2 separate regions of the Homo sapiens genome follow, and region 1 is linked to region 2. The links are contacts of gene promoters, found by promoter capture Hi-C in blood cells and fetal thymus (Javierre and others, 2016). All regions are on one chromosome and are shown on one strand. Each heading gives the region's core, a stretch centred on a gene start or on the middle of the fragment in contact. The rest is flanking DNA. Distances are from core to core; before and after follow the strand shown. Region 1 has its middle 25 kb from the start of PTP4A1. Region 2 holds the start of SCAT8 (S-phase cancer associated transcript 8).

Region 1 (4,630 bases), core at 1,660-4,159, 210 kb after region 2:
ACCAAAAAACCCTATTAAGATCAGCAGTACAGTTAGCATCAAAGGTATCTGGAACCAGGAACTCAAACGTATTGCAGTCTTTCTCCCTTGTACCGTCTCTCCCCGCTTTTTTCTCTCTTTCCCCGTTTTTTGGTTTGCTTCTCTCTACTTTTTAACCTCAACACATTTAAAAGTAGAAGTTTCCTGTTTTTAATTCCTACTTCAGTCTGTTTTTCCTATCTATTGAATGTTTTAATTCCCATCAATCTTTATTTTTAACATCAATCTGCTTCTTCAAATTTTAATTTTTTAAATCCTTCTTAGCCTTTGAATTTTTGTCCCTAACCTTTACTCTTTGTCGATAGTGTGTGCTTATTACCAATTTATCTCTGTAAGAGGGAAGTACCAGAACTTAAAAAGAAGCATGGGCCTACAAATGTAAAGAAATTGATTTGCATTTATAAATAATGGAGACGGCAAGGTTCTGAGAAGTACTCAGCTGGTATTATCTCAAACTTGACTTTATTGATGATTTTTAACCACGAAATTTAGACTTTCCATAAGGATTATAACTTGCTTGTTTATCCCATTTCTTGGCTAAGGATGGGAACTACATTTCCCAGAATCCTCTTCCCTATATGGTTCTAGGTTAGAATTGAACAAAAGAGGAATGTGTATGAGATTTGAAAAGTGAATGAAACTGAAGCGACTGTGCTCAAAAGGTCATTGCTGTGAAACCGGGCGACAGGTAGAGACAGATGCTGCGAGTCCCAGCTTGTCCTGCTGTTCTCCATTCTGTGTCTTGCCTCTCTTGCCACCTGCTGGTTCGGCTGATCAATAACAGCCCCTGACCCAGGGTGTAGGCGATAGCTACACAAAGACGAACCTTTCCCCAGAGATGGCAATTTCGAGACCCTCCATGAATACGCTCTTTGCAGTCCCACTTTGGCAACTGGTCACGCTTGATTTCCTGGATTTCTCGGCCAGCTGCAGTTTGTTACTCACATCAGTGCTTCAGTGGACTCTTCAGCCTATTTCTCTGATTCTCTGACTCTCCCTTCCAGACCTTCACTTTTGCAACTCTTTTCATATTCGTGTAAGTCCTAATTCCTATAGTAAATTAGTTATTCTCATTATCATTACAGTGTCTCTTGGAACTCTTCGATCTTCGTGCTCGGCTGTCTTTATTGCTTCAGGTGTCTTCCCTGATAGTTGCAAATGGCCACCACAACCGAGCGTTCCCTACTCACCTGACGTTGCTCCAAGCAGCAAGCAAGCGCACGGGTACTTACAAGTCTTTCTCCATACAATCTTCTCTTGTTTCAGGAAAGAATGTTGTTTTTACCAGAAGCCTCTAACAGAATTCCCCTCTAAGTCTCCTAGGTCAGATCAGGCATCTTCCCCTGGTCACTGATAAAGGAGCTAAATTGCCATGATTGGCTCAGACTTGTGGTCCTGTCCTTGGCTGCACAACAGGGAACATTTTAAAACGTATTTGCACCCGCACCCAACTTGCAACGATTCTGATCGAATTGTTTTGGGGTGGTGCTGTGGCTCAATATTTGTAAAATGCTTTCGCAGAGATTATAATGTGCAGCCAGGGTTGAGAACCACTGCTTGGATCAAACATGATTCATTCTCTTAATATTTCACAGTGCCTGAGCAAATCAGTGTTCTGTATAAGGAAGAAGGTAGAAATGCTGAGGGATTGGCAATCAAGATTTATTCATCCAAATTATCTCATTCAAGCATGACCGATGGAATAGATGGAAATATGACTAAATTTCCCACTTGATTTTCATCATCTAACATCACTAAGAGTTACCAGAGTTTAAACAAGTTATTTGACTAAATCTAGGAATAATAATACAACAGCTATTCTCTATTCCTTAGTTACTGGAAGTAAAGCCATTCTGAATGAGCTACTAAACCACGTGGCACAGAGCTCAAGAAATAACTATTCCTTTGTGGGGCACCTAATGAATTAGCCTTATTTAATTACTTATATAATTAATTGCATGATTAATATAATTAATTATATAATTAATTGCATGATTAATATAATTAATTATATAATTAATTGCATGATTAATATAATTAATTATGGGGGTGGGAACATGGAGAGATGGTCAAAGGGTACAAAGTTTCAGTTAGAAAACATGTTTTTGAGATATATCGCACAGCATGGTGACTATAGTTAATAATGTATCTTTCAAAATTGCTAACAGGGCAAATTTTAAATATACCACAAAAAATGGTAAGTATGTGAGGTGATGGATTTAATTAGCTTAATTTAATCATTTTACAATACGTAGATATATCAAAACATCACATTGTACCCCACAAATATATATAATTGTCAATTAAAAACAATTAAAATCTTTAAAAAAATCCCTGTAGTTCTGAATTTGAGTTGGAAGTATCAGTATGATATTGTAACATTATTTTTTTTTTGTATTTTCATTATAATTAATTTTTTTTTTTTTTGTGAGAGAGGGTCTCACTTTGTCACCCAGGCTGGAGTGCAGTGGCAAGGATCTCAGCTCACTGCAACCACCCCCTCCTGTGTTCAAGCGATTCTCAAGGCTCAGCTCTCTGAGTAGCTGGGATTACAGTTGCACATCACCATGCTCAGCTAATTTTTGTATTTTTAGTAGAGATGGGGTTTTATCATGTTGGCCAGGCTGGTCTCGAACTCCTGACCTCAAGTGATCTGCCTGCCTTGACCTCCCAAATTGTTGGGATTACAGGCATGAGCCACAGCACCCAGTCTCAGTATAGTTTATTTTATACTACAGTTTAATTATCTTTATAGTGCACTTATTTTTTTCCACTTATTTTTTGAGACTGGATCTCCCTCTATCGCCCAGCCTGGAGTACAGTGTTGCAATCTTGGCTCACTGCAACTTCTGCCTCCCAGGCTCAAGCTGTCCTCCCACTTTAGCCTCCATAATAGCTGGGACTATAGGCACAGACCACCATGCCCATCTAAGTTTTGTATTTTTTGTAGAGAGGGGTTTTGCCATGTTGCCCAGGCTGGTCTTGAACTCCTGGTCTCAAGCCATCTGCCTACATCAGCCTCCCAAAGTGCTGGGATTACGGGAGTGAGCCACCATGCCTGGCCAGTATAATGCACTTACTTCTTAAACTCTGACTTTCTTTCTGCCACTTTTGCTTATAATTACATAATTTTTTGATATAATATTATAATATTTACCCTTAGGAGAGATCAGAATCATACATCACTCCTCACAGAAATTGAGAGACTTTTTTCCTGTTAAACAGCATGTTTTAGTGATTTCTCTATTGCCATGGTAAGGCAAGCCAGGTTAAATCAGAGGAGAATGTTTAAGGGAATGTTCCTGAAAATTGTCTTATTTCTTATCTTCACTTTTGTGCATGGATACAGAATTTGTGTCTATTTCATGAATTTCAGATTAACTTGTATAGAAAAGTCATTATGATGTTCTCTAAAATGCAAATGTGTTAGATTAATTTACAAACTATTTGAAAAGTTAGGCATTTCCTTCATTCTCCTTTCATTTAAAATTATTGCAAAAGCATAGAAATATTCAGATCATGTGGAGTATGTACATCCAAAATAGATAATTTAAAAAATTATCTTGATTCTGCCATTGGAATTTTTAAAACAACTTTACTGAGGTATAATTCACATACTGTATGGTTCGTCCATTTACAGTGTACAACTCAATGTCTCCCACAATATTCACAAAGTTGTGTAACCACCACCACAATCAATATTAGAATATTTTCATCACCCCGAAAAGAAATTCTGCATCTCTTAGCCATCACGGCCGCCCTCTTCCATGTTCCTTCACTTTCACCATTCCTAGGCAAACACCATCTACTTTTTGTGTCCATAGATTTGTCTGTTCTGGACATTTCATATAGATAAAGTCATACAAAATGTAGTTTTCTTTTTTAAAATTGTATTTTATTGGCCGAGCGAGGTGGCTCATGCCTGTAATCCCAGAACTTTGGGAGGCCGAGGCAGGTGGATCACCTGAGGTCAGGAGTTCAAGACCAGCCTGACCAACATGGCGAAATCCTGCCTCTACTAAAAAAACAAAAACATTAGGCAGGCGTGGTGGTGCATGCCTGTAATCCCAGCTACTCGGTAGGCTGAAGCAGAGAATTGCTTGAACCCGGGAGGCTGAAGTTGCAGTGAGCCAAGATCACGCCATTGCACTCCAGCCTCGGCAACAAGAGCAAAACTCTGTCTCAAAAAAAAAAATTGTATTTTAGATTCAGAGGATATGGTGCATGCTTGCTATGTGGGTATATTGGTGGATATTGGGCTTCTAGTTTACCCATTACCCAAATAGTGAACATTGTACCCAAAAGGTAATTTTTCGGCCCTTGCTCCCTTCCCACCCTCCCCTCTTCTGGAGTCCTCAGTGTCTATAATTTTCATCTTTATGTCCATATGTACCCATTGTTTAACTCCTACTTATATGTGAGAACATGTAGTGTTTGGTTTTCTGTTTCTGAGTTAGTTCACTTATGATAATGACCTCCAGCTCCACCCACATTGCTGCAAAGGATATGATTTCATTCTTTTTTGTGGTTATGCTTCTTTTTTAAAAGTATTTTTTTTACCTTTGTCCACTGAAAAGACCTGGAGATAATG
Region 2 (4,445 bases), core at 59-2,558:
CTTGAGTGACTAGTGCTTTTTTATCTTTGTGTCACCAGCATCTAGCACAGGTTCTGACAGTAAAATACCATATATATGAGATACGTATTTGTCAATCTAGCCTAAATGTAACCTTTAGGTAGACTCAGTTGTAAATTATTAACAGGAAGAAATATTAAAAGCAAAAGATAGTCATTCCTTTTCTATTTTAGTATTAAATTTAACTGAATTCTATTTTCATAGTTTTTAATGCCAACATTGAATGATGGTCAGTATTTTTATTCTGTTTCAACTCCAGTACATTTCATTTCCCTCAATCACCCTCCCCATAGTACTACTGAAAGTGATATACCTGAGAGTGTTATTATCTCAGGGACACAAATTATAAAGTTTTCATTAGATTAAAAAATAAGTATAAGAAGCAATATGTCTCAAAAGTCCCTACTTCACATTCTGGTGAGTTTTGAGAAAATTACATTTAACCTATGCCACACATCCCAGGGAATAAACTGATAAGATTTTAATAAAATATCAAAACAAAGTATTCAGCTTCACACAAATATCTTAGTTTAATAGTCATAATAAACTGATAAGATTTTAATAAAATATCAAAACAAAGTATTCAGTTTATTCACACAAATATCTTAGTTTAATAGTCATATAAAACAAAGATATACAAGCCTTTGATAATAAGCATCATTTTTCCTAAATTATTTGCTGTATACACAATTATAAACAGACATAAGAAGCTCTTTTAAGTGTTACATACCAGAGTGAGTATATTTCTTAAGGCTTGTAAAAATTCTAATTTTACAGCTTCCCTGGAGTTCCAACATCTCTTGAGAAGGAAACAACATAAGCTCTTATTTCCTCAACCGAGCTGTCCCCAACCAATAAAAATAGATCCTAGGAACATCCCTTAATCTGGTGACATCATCCATAAAAGACAGGAATGGGGTGTCAAAATCCCCTTTCTATTTTCTGTTGTCCTCTTTGGGTAAGGAGATTTAAAAAACCAGTGGAGACTTATGAAGGAAACAGTACAATGAAAGAGAAGAGTTCGATACAAGAAGCAACCCTCAGTTAAATTCTATTTTGTTCACACTGGCCCTTGAACTTCATCTAATTTTACCATTTCCTGTTTTTAATAAATCTCCCTACACTTTCACACCAATTGAATTCCATGTTTTTATTACTTAAGAAGCATCTCAGCAAAGAAATAATGAACATTTCTTTTAGACAATTATTTTTACTTAAAGAAAAGCTCTGGTCACTCACCAATGATGATAGAAAACTGACCGATTTCCTTCCTATTTCTTGACTTTCCTAGCCCTGACCTGGGGCTTTGGCTCAGATAAAGGTGCAGGATTAGAAAAGCACAGTTTGTTCAAAGGTGTGAGCTCCTCTCTAAGTCATATCCAGGTTTTGGATGCCAAATCATGTTTACGAGGCACCTGAGTAAATACTTTGTTTGGCTGCCAGTAATCTTTTCTATTTCTAAAATTAAGTTTCAAAATATAGGGGTTTGCTTTTTAAGTAAATTATCCATTATGTAGAAAGAGTATGCTAGTGAAAGGATTATATAGAAGATCTCAAAACACTGCATTTCCTTTGTTCTGGTTTTGAAATTTCCTGTTGAGTCACTTAGTTGCTCAATGCTGAAGGGCACTAAAGTATAATTAATGTAATAGTAAACAGACTATCTGGCCAGATGCATCAGCAAAACGTAACCCTCACTTTACAAATACATGTACAGGTTTATTTTAACTGTTTGGTTTGGGTTTTTTCACAGCTATTAATATTACTCAGCCAAGGTTCAGTGGCACAGATGCCTTTGGATACACCTCATTCCTGGCTTATTCACGGATCTCAGACATCAGCTTCCATTATGAATTCCACCTGAAGTTTCAGCTGGCAAACAACCACTCAGCACTGCAAAATAACTTGATATTTTTTACTGGACAGAAAGGCCATGGTAAGATTAACTGAACCCTCTAGGACTTGCCTCGCTCCTTTAAGAATACTTTAGAGATTCCTCAGGGACACTCTAATTGGCTGTGGTAAAAAAAAGACCTTTGCCTAGATGCAGCCTCCTCCTGTTTTCTGCCTTGAGCATGTTCGCTGTAGTCCAAAGTACTTAGCAGTTCCCTGATCCTTTCTGAAGCTCTACTTTGCATCAGGGCTACTGTATTAGTCAGTTTTCATGCTGCTGTAAAGAACTGCCAGAGACTGGGTAATTTACAAAGGAAAGAAGTTTAATTGACTCACTGTTCAGCATGGCTGGGGAGGCCTCCGGAAATTTACAAGCATGGTGGAAGGGGAAGAGGAAGCAGAGTACTTTCTTCACAAGGCAGCAGGAAGACGTGCCTAGTAAAGGGGAGAATTTCTCCTTATAAAACCATCAGATCTCCTGAGAACTCACTCACTATCACGAGAACGCATGAGGAAAACCACCCCCATGATTTAATTACCTCCACCTGGTCTCTCCCTTGACACCTGGGGATTATGGGGATTACAATTCAAGATGAGGTTTGCGTGGGAACACAAAACCTAACCATATCAGCTACCTTTCATAATCAAAAGAAAAAATTCCTACAGGCAAACATGAGGACAGGGAAGGTGACCAAGTCACATGGGAAGTAAGTTTATTGATTTGTCCTTTCCTCTGTTTCTTTCTGTTTCCATGTCTGAAGAGAGAAGGGAAATTCTCATTTTTCCATGTGTTATAAAATGGAAATGGTTGTTGCCCTCAAAGAAAACCATTCTAAATTAAAGGAGCAAGAAATTAAGAAAGTACTCAGCCTGTAACAAAGTACTCTAGTGCCCTGGAATTGGTGGGAAATCAACTTATAACTTACATTTGTCTCTCTTAAGTAGAAACTAGTTATGCATGTGCTAAGTCAAGGAAAATTACCTATGTTTTACTTTTAAGTCTGCAATCAACAGTTAAGCAATTAATCACCTAACTTCTCTGAGTTCAGTGTTTTCATCTGTGAGATCAACATATTGTAACAGAAAAAGACCTTTCTCTCAGCTGTCAGTGGTTCTACGGTGCTAGGGTAAATAACATATTCTGTTTTTTTCAACTCAATCAGTGACTGTCTCTTAATACCAAACACTCTTTTCTGTATCAGCATATGTCTGAAAGGAGCCTACACCCCAAATGAAATGTGGTATTTCAGACTCCCACCATGTCTGCTAGGATGGGGTACTCTATCATGTAAAGTACTATTCATTCTACCTCCAAAATTTGTTTGAATCTCTTCCCCATCCCTATGCTGAAACCTCATGACCTCTTCCTGACTGGTCTCCCTACTGATTTCCTGCCTGCAATTAATTATCCACATTGTAATAAGAGTTAGCCTCTTAAAAGGTTTATTAGATCATGTCTGAACCTTGTTTAAAACCCATCTGTGGCTTTTTACTGCACTTAGAATGCAATCCAAACCTCCTTATCATGTTCTCAAAGGGCCTTCAGGATCAGATCCCAGTCTGCATCTCTGAACACAACCAGGCCACTCTCACTATCTCTGTGCTTTTCTCCTACAGCTCTTCTTCCAGTGCCTTAACCACCAAGTGCTTTCCTGTCTCAGAGGTTTGGTGCATGCTTTTTCCTCAGCCTTGACAGGAAATAGCTATCATAGTGGTCAAGGGAGCAGGCTCTAGAGACTGGTGATGTAGACATGAATCAGTCTCCACCATGTGCAAATTATGTGTCAAGTTACTTAATGTCTTTGTGCCTCTATTTTCTAACCTATCAAATGAGTATAGTAACAGTGTATTTCCTTACAGCGTTGTGAGGAATAACGAACTTAATACATGGGAAGCTCTTAAAATATTGTTGGACTCGGCCAGGCGCGGTGACTCACGCCTGTAATCCCAGCACTTTGGGAGGCCAAGGTGGGTGGATCACCTGAGGTCAGGAGTTTGAGAGCAGCCTGACCAACATGGAGAAACCCCGTCTCTACTAAAAATACAAAATTAGCCAGGCATGGTGGTGCACACCTGTAATCCTAGCTACTTGGGAGGCTGAGGCATGAGAATCGCTTGAACCCAGGAGGCGGAGGTTGCAGTGAGCCGAGATTGCAGTGTTGCACTCCAGCCTGGGCAACAAGAGCAAAACTCTGTCTCAAGAAAAAGAAAAAGAAAAAAAATCATTGTACTCAATAAACACGGTAGTGTATCTTTTCTCAAAAGGGCCTTCTGTAGCCACCTTCACCAAAGTAAGTCTTGTCCCACCCCATCCAAGTTATTCTCTACCTCAGCTTCTTATTTACTTCCTTCATTGCCATTACTTTAATTTAGTATCCTTTTATTTATTTTTAATATAGTTGTTTCTTGTCTGTTTTCACTAACAGAATGGGAGCTTTACATAGAAAGAGATCAAGTCAGCCCTGTTCAACTTTATACACCCATGCTTAGCCCAGTGTCTGACCATAATCAGTATTTAATGAATGAATAAAATA

The links. Contacts are between HindIII fragments. The CHiCAGO score rates a contact against its expected background, and 5 or more counts as called.
Region 1: a fragment that was not itself captured here is called in contact with the fragment with the promoter of SCAT8 in region 2 in 3 of 17 cell types (monocytes, M1 macrophages and M0 macrophages); the score reaches 8.6 in monocytes.

The regions. Positions count from the first base shown.
Region 1 is chr6:63,594,917-63,599,546 of GRCh38, reverse strand. No RefSeq gene overlaps it. Among named protein-coding and RNA genes, the nearest start is that of PTP4A1, 25 kb to the right of the region's middle. RefSeq lists enhancers at 806-865, 946-1,105. The HindIII fragment of the contact is 7,361 bases long and covers 1-4,630 here.
Region 2 is chr6:63,803,699-63,808,143 of GRCh38, reverse strand. It overlaps SCAT8 (S-phase cancer associated transcript 8), which reads right to left and starts at 1,308. Exons shown (of 2, transcript NR_157848.1): 1 at 1,258-1,308. EYS (eyes shut homolog) reads left to right here. Exons shown (of 43, transcript NM_001142800.2): 37 at 1,772-1,954. The HindIII fragment of the contact is 5,141 bases long and covers 1-4,445 here.